Regions from separate parts of the Homo sapiens genome. Here region 1 is linked to region 2. The links are contacts of gene promoters, found by promoter capture Hi-C in human tissues and cell types (Jung and others, 2019). All regions are on one chromosome and are shown on one strand. Each heading gives the region's core, a stretch centred on a gene start or on the middle of the fragment in contact. The rest is flanking DNA. Distances are from core to core; before and after follow the strand shown. Region 1 overlaps MIR100HG (mir-100-let-7a-2-mir-125b-1 cluster host gene). Region 2 holds the start of BLID (BH3-like motif containing, cell death inducer).

The links. Contacts are between HindIII fragments. The study calls those that stand out against the background at their distance.
Region 1: a fragment that was not itself captured here is called in contact with the fragment with the promoter of BLID in region 2 in 3 of the 25 tissues and cell types used here (aorta, hippocampus and liver).

What each region holds. Positions count from the first base shown.
Region 1 is chr11:122,155,523-122,159,180 of GRCh38, forward strand. MIR100HG (mir-100-let-7a-2-mir-125b-1 cluster host gene) reads right to left here. Exons shown (of 5, transcript NR_137179.1): 4 at 29-110. Among named protein-coding and RNA genes, the nearest start is that of MIR100, 5.0 kb to the left of the region's middle. The HindIII fragment of the contact is 4,853 bases long and covers 1-3,658 here.
Region 2 is chr11:122,114,818-122,118,676 of GRCh38, forward strand. BLID (BH3-like motif containing, cell death inducer) reads right to left here and starts at 1,398. Exons shown (of 1, transcript NM_001001786.3): 1 at 523-1,398. The coding sequence starts at 1,105. The coding sequence ends at 779. The region is part of intron 4 of MIR100HG (mir-100-let-7a-2-mir-125b-1 cluster host gene); the gene reads right to left. The HindIII fragment of the contact is 11,140 bases long and covers 1-3,859 here.

The DNA of each region.
Region 1 (3,658 bases), core at 239-2,738, 41 kb after region 2:
TGGGAAAATTACAGAAAAACACCATTACCTGAAAAAGGTAACTTCTTATGTAAAATTTTAAACCTGCTTCCATCTTGTTAGGCTAATATCTTCAAATCATCCACGCGCGTCTGGAAAATAAGACATTTACAATATTTTAAAATGGGTTAAGAATTTTTACTTGTTTTTCAGTTGTTTTTTTTTTTTTTTTTTTTTGCCACCCAACTCTTTTGTAAAGTTGAAAGTAACACTAGAACAAGAGTAAAAAGAAAAACAAAAACTGAAATAAAACTATTTCTAGAAAAACATCGGGAACCATTATGTTTACTTCATTTCCAGAACTACGCATAATAAATAGGTTCTGCAAATAAGTAATTTCACAAATCTTTCCTGGAATTCCCCTGGCTACGCTTGGACCTTGAGAACAATTTTACCAGAAAAATGATCAAATAGGAATGTGAAGTCTCGGAATACTCCCATACTTTTGTACAAATGTTTTATACCAAACCACTCACTTGCTAAGCATGATGAAGAGATAGGCTATCTATGGTTAAGAATAGTTTAAGGAATAATCAATGAATTGGGCAGTGATTACCTGGCATGATGCAGCGCCATTGAGACATCATTTTAACTTTTTTACTGTCAAATGATTCAGGAGTCATTATTTCTCTCGGCTGATAGGGCTGTTAAAAAGAAGCAAGTATCCGATTGTGGTGGACTCATGAGTCTATGCCTCTCCACCACAGCAGGATTCCTGGCTTCCATTCCAGTGTCCTTTCATTGGCCATGTTTTGGACGCGGGGTTCGCCTTCCCTTCATTGTCCCTTTACTAATGGAAGGCGAACTCACAGTGCAGCTGCTTGCAAAAAGGAAAATTTATTTGAGTTTTGCCTGGCTGTGGACTTGAACACTGAATCCATGGTGACATCAGCAGAACGACACCAACGGAAAGATTTCCTGCCCTCTACCCCCCTTCCTTTTTAAAAATGTACGTCTTGTACAAAATCTCAGTGGATCTCCTTTGTCCCAAACAGATGGGACAGTTTGACCAGATAATATTTTTTATCTGGGAAGGACAGGAGGAAGGAAGGAAGGAAGGAAGGATGGAAGGAAGGAGAAAAAAAGAGAAAAGAGAGCGGCACAGAGAGAGAAAAGAAAAAAGAGAGAAAAAGAAAAAGAGCCAGAGACAGAGAAAGGAAAGAAAGAGCAAGATAGAGAATAAAGAAAAAATAAAGAGAAGGAAAAAAAGGAAAGAATAAGGAAAGGAAGGAAGGAAGGAAAGAGAAAGAAAGAAGGAGAAAGAAAAAGTAGGAAGAAAGGAAAGAAAAGAAAGAGAAACAGAAAGAAAGAAAGAAAGAAAGAAAGAAAGAAAGAAAGAAAGAAAGAAAGAAAGAGAAAGAAAGAAAGAAAGCTTGTTCAAATCTAACCTTTGTCGTTCACTCTGACAGTGGGTGTCCCCTGAAGCAGGGGAGACACTAGTGTTTGGTCTCCTACAGCTTTTCAGTTTTTCTGATCGTTTCTCTCATCCTTTGCAGTCACTGGTTTTTGCCAAAAGATCCAATCACCTCAACAAAAGAGGCACATCCAGCAATTGCTACTCCAAGAGTAATTCATTGGTGCCAATTGTCGTGCCACGTTTTATCCACCTGGGACATTGCCACAAGGATATCAGACCACAGAGTGGGAGCAGCGCTCAAGGATATGACGCAGAGGCTTTTGGCATCAAAACCAGTTAGCTTAGGTAGAACTCATTCCTTTTTACAAGGAAAAACTGGCCAGAAGGCAGTAGGGAGCGAGGAGAATGGCAAAGCAATGCCATGGCTTTCATGTTTCTTTCGAGCAAATGGAACACTGAAGATTGATGGATATTTATAATCTTCATCTCACCACACCCTGCCCACACTAAACAATATTTTATGAAAATGATAAATGCAAGTGTGTGTAGATCAAGCAAAGAGAAAAGATGGAAAATGGTATAATAGAAGATAGATCGGATGAAAACAAAAGACACTCTTAGACTATTTGAATAGTGAGCTTACTTTTCTGTAATTAAAAAAATCTTAAACCCACTTAATATTCACTTAAAACAGGCATATAACAGAAATCAACTATTTGAGAGTGAGAAATTGATGGCAAATTCACTTTTGACACACTAGATGAAACAAAAGAGAGACTTTGCCAGTACCAAGTTGTATCGTGTGCGCTGGCTAAGGTATACTACTTTCACTTTTGAAAGGAATAAGTTTGCTCAGGATGACAATTTTTCTTCCTTTTTAAAATGCAAACAATGATGCCAGCCTACAACTTCCTTTCTAGCTATTTTGCTAATAAAGCAGGGGAGGAGAATTGAAATTTGAAAAAATAACAAGACCTTGATTCTGACATAGAAACATCAGACACGTACTTTTAAAAATCAGATGACTGTCATCTCTTTAATAGAAGTGAACTATATGCTATATAAATGCTTCCTAGACACCAGCCAACTTTAACACTTTCTGTTCAAAGCTATGTTTTGCTCTTGAGAAAGTATCTCACAATTAGATGAGAAAGTGGGTGGATAGGATGGCTTGGGAAGATTTGAAGATTGAATCCTGCAAGAAAAGAGATACATAATATGTAAAGAGTGAGTATTTCTTGAGGGTTTTGACCGCATGACAATGGAGTCTTGTTCTGGGAAAGTTATAGAGGAGCCTGGAACGTCCAAAATGATACTTATAAAAAAAAAAAAAGCAACCTTCAAACCCAAGAAAAGATGTTCAGCTGAAACAGAAAGACCTTTTTTCTTACTCCAGGGTGCAGATCCACTCAGAGGAAAAGTCACACACCCCTGTCTCTCTGCATTTCACCCAGCAGGTCAGCGTTTCTCCACCTAGGGCTCTCCATGTCTATTGATTTCCACATGTCTCTCTTTGTTTGGAACAACAACCAACCAACTAGAAGACGATTTTATATACTCTTCACCAAATTGAAGTTGGGAAAGAAAAAAAGTATTAGACTATTTTCCTTACTTCTCGCTCTCAACTTGTCCCAAATATTGATCTGGTTATTTTGCTTTCTAGCCCTCCATCAACCTCCTAACTCTTTCTCTCTCTCTCTCTGTCTCTCTCTCTCTCTCTCTCTCTCACACACACACACACACACACACACACACATACATACATACACACACACACACAACTGCTGCTTGATCCAATCTGGTGCCTGCTTAACAACAAGAGAATGACAAGCAACATCTGTTTGTAAAAGAGCCAAAGTCAAACCTTAACGTTTTTTTGGCTAGGTTTCTTTTTTCCTTTTTCCCCAGACTCTAAAATGGGAGGGGGCAGAAAGAGAAATATGAAGATTTATATTCAGCATCGGCTCCAATGAGGCAGCATCTATACTCCCCTAGAGCTATTTCAAGGTAAAAACAATTTTAGGTAAAACCACTGCAGAATTTATGGTCGTCTCCCCTGCAGCAAGCCCAGCCACATAAAATCCAACATATCAAATCCCTAAAAGTCAGGATTTTTTCCTAATAGCTTTATATTCATCTTCTAATTAGAATTACAGGGTCTTTGTGTTGGGGGAGGGGTGGTAGAGATAGAAAGGGAGGAGGGTAAGACAGAAAAAGAAAAATAGAGAGGAAAGGAGCGCCGTTGTTCCTCCCAGATTTTATAACCCAGGCGTGTAACAGGCA
Region 2 (3,859 bases), core at 148-2,647:
GAAAGAAAGCAGAGAAGGGGACACTAGAATAGCTTAAAGTAAAAGCTCTGAAACACCTTTTCCATTTCCTTTTCCTTTTTTCCCCACAGATTTAGTTCTACTCACTCTAATAACAGAGTTCATAAAAGATTACTGGAATTTCTATTTCTTTCAGTTCCACAGGTTTTTTTTTTTGTAAAGGGAAAGAAAGGTTAGACTTATTTACAACACAATGACAATCTCTGATTCTTCACTTTAAGCAAATAAAGACGCCTAGTGAAATAAATGGATTGTGTTATTTAAAATTGAAAGCTTATGTGAACCACCACTCAGAAACATGCTTAAAAAATACAGAAAGAAAATGAAAACCCTGTGACTACACAAGATTATTCTGATGCCAAATGCTGAGTGTACAACTAAGTAGAGTAATTGTTAATAATATGACAAGTACCTACTTCCAATGTACAAATGAAATACACTCAAAACTGCAAAGGACAGTGGCACTGTACGCTGCCCTAAGGTTTACCATCACATAGCTTTTTGTTTTTTCATGAATTTGCAAGATTTGTTTTAATTAAATGCCATTTACTTTTAACTAGCCAGTTTATCCTTTTTAAAAATTTTATTGTTTCTCTGCACAATTTGAACCAAATTTGGAAAAGTTATGGGTAAAAGTGGGTAGAAAAGACTGTTAAGAATTGGGTCTTATTGAAATCAAGTTTCCTTCTGTGTTGTGCAGCCTGAATAATGGGCGAAATCTGTCCTAATATCTTGCTGCATCTGTCCTAACTCACTCCTTTTACAGGGCCTCAGCAGAGGAATTGCATAACAATGTAACTTGTATCCTGGTTAAATAGGAAGGTCTCTGAAGCACATGTCCAGGAACATTCCGCTTCATGGCAGAGGAGCCAAGATTGTACCTTTTAAGAGAAAGCACTGTTTCCTTAGGCAACATAGGTTCTTTGTTGGAACCCAAGAGCGCCTCCAGTGGCAGGCGTGCTTTTGCCTCTGGATAAATGGAACTGCCAGAGGCTCGCTCTATCCATCCTGTGTAGAGCACACACTCAGATTCTAGGATCTCAAAGAAATGTATTTCCTGGCCCTCTATAGGCAACAAAGTCACCATAATTTGAAGCTATTATGGAAGAAAGTCCAAAATTTAACTTCCATTCGCTTTATTCAGCAAGTTTTTATAAGGCAGATCTCATATGGACTATGCTTTGCATAAGCACGGTGTTAGATGGGAAGAAAAAAGTGGTGGGATCCTTCCTCCTCTTCCTTTCTTCCCAGCTCCTGCTATTCATGGAATTTCCCTTGATTTCAAGTGGCTACTCACCAAAATCCTCAACTGAAAACAGCTTCCAAGGGGTCATGTACTTATTCAATTCTCTTCTCTCTTTTCTCCAAACACAACATCATCTGACCAAGGTTTGCATGCATAAGCATTGCTAATTAACGATAAGTCTCCACGATGTCCTCCTCTCAGTAAGTTTGACACACAGACCTCAGCGAAGCTGTATGTACTGCCTAAAAGTAGGAAAGATCTCCACGTTGATTTCTGAATTGTAAAAGGCAGGGATATGTTTTGGACTTCTTGTCCCTTACTGTGAACAGACCTAAGAGTACTTACTTTATTTTTTAGAAAGAACCCGGAGCTGCTGATGTCTGAGGGAGTCGTTTCAACAGAGACTAGAATATCGAGAGAGAAAATTGATCCAGCTCTCTTGTCTGGTGCTTATAAAACATGAAAGTATCACCCTCGCCATGGCAGACCACAGGGAATGATCAGTGTGAATTGTTAAGTCCTCTTCTCAGTGATGCTTGCAAGCAATTTCCCTGGGGAAGCAACAAGTTCCTGACCACAGTGTTGTACACAAATAAATAAACAAAATGCTATTACTTTTTGTTCTTCACATTGGGAAAAGTTCAGAAACATCTTGTTTCAATTGATGGGCTGGAATTACAGAAACATTTTAATTTTGTCTTTCCTTGCTAGTTCTGTGCCTGAGATGTATTGGTAAAATGGAACATGAGTCATATTTCTAATTGGGAAAAGCCTGGTAATCATGGGCAACCCAGATCTGGGTGACTTACAGAGTATTTTTGTGTTGAGAGAGAAAAGACACTAAAAGTAGAAGTTTCTTACTTAGCAGCAGCAGAGAGGCTATAAGATTGAATCTGGTGTTTCACATGGCCTGTATCATGGTATAATGAGAAGGAATGTGTCTTGCACAAATTAGCCTATAGACCTTTCTAATCAGGACCAATATGTGACATATACAAAGGCAAGATCAGCTGTAAGGAAGGATTCACTCCTTTACCACCAAGCCATGGAGACTGCTTGAGTCATCATGGCCTTGGTCTCTTGATTTCCCTTATGTTATTTGAGTAGAAACTCAGGCACCAATGATGCCCCCAGTTAACCATAACCATAATGGTAGCATCCAATACCATTTTTAAAAAAGTCAGGGTTGTAGACAAAAGACTGATGTAGACCAGTGGAGAAGACAAGAGGGAGTTATGCAGCCTACTCTGAGAGCAAAGTCTGGTTTGGATCTTCTCTGCTACTTTTGTACATTTCATGCTAGAGGCAGAACAAGTATCCAGGGAACACTTTGGAACTTTCCTAAATTTACAGAGGGGCCTGTAACATTCAATTAGGGGGAACACAGAATGTTCTACTCTAGCAAAATTTATAGGTAGTATAAGAAATTCCATCAAGTGTCTTGTGGAAAACTGAATGCATAAAAGTAAGGATGTGGATAATGGGATCATTCAATATAGATTTCAAACCAAAGTCCGCTGCTTAATAACTCTGAACTTGGGCAGAGTACTTAACCTTACTGAACATCAGATTCTTTATTTGTAAAATGGGGACCATAATATCTTCTTTGCTCAATTATTTGGGGGATTAATGAGGGAAGGAATATAAATTATCACAAGATCTGGTATATAGTAAGAACTTTGCAATGTTTTTTTCCTCTCTTTATTGATGAATGCTTTCCAGATTTCTATTTGGCCTCTTCTCTTTGAGTTTATAGAATACTAATTTTCTGTACTTTGTGGCAAATCTATTCAATTTAACAGTTTTTAAAATTTATTATAATGTGAGACATGGAATATGAAGAATAAATAATGCATACCATTTTTATAAAAGAGACTCATAATCTACTGAGAAAGCTAGAAACATGCTGGGTCACTATACATTAGACAAGGTTAAGTGGAATAATTTGGTTATTTAAACATTTGGGAGAAGGGGTGATCTAATTATATACCAGGCACCATACAAGGTGGCAAAGACCCAAAGATGTATAAGATGCAATTATTGAACTCCAGGGCCCTTAATTTTTTTTCTTTTTCTTTTTTTTTTCTTCTTCTGGTTTTTTTTGTTTGTTTTGTTTTGTTTTGTTTTGTTTTTTATACAAGAGTCTTGCTCTTGTTACCCAGGCTGGAGGTCAGTGGCGCAACCTCAGCTCACTGCAACCTCTGCTTCCCGGGTTCAAGTGATTCTCCTGCCTCAGCCTCCTGAGTAGCTGGGATTACAGGCACCCGCCACCATGCCCAGCTAATTTGTGTATTTTTAGTAGAGACAAGGTTTTACCATGTTGGCCAGGCTGGTCTTGAACTCCTGATCTCAGGTGATCCACCTGCCACGGCCTCCCAAAGTGCAAGGATTACAAGTGTGAGCCACCACGCCCAGCCTAGGCCCTTAATTTAGTACAGGAAGAGACATGTGAACAAACTTCAACAGAAGATGGAGAGAACAAATGATACTGAGTAAAGAAGTAACTCGAAGGACAAGAAATCACTTTTGTTGGTAGTGTCAGGGAAGGTTTCACAGAGGAGAAAATATCTAGGCTAGATATACAAAAATAACTAG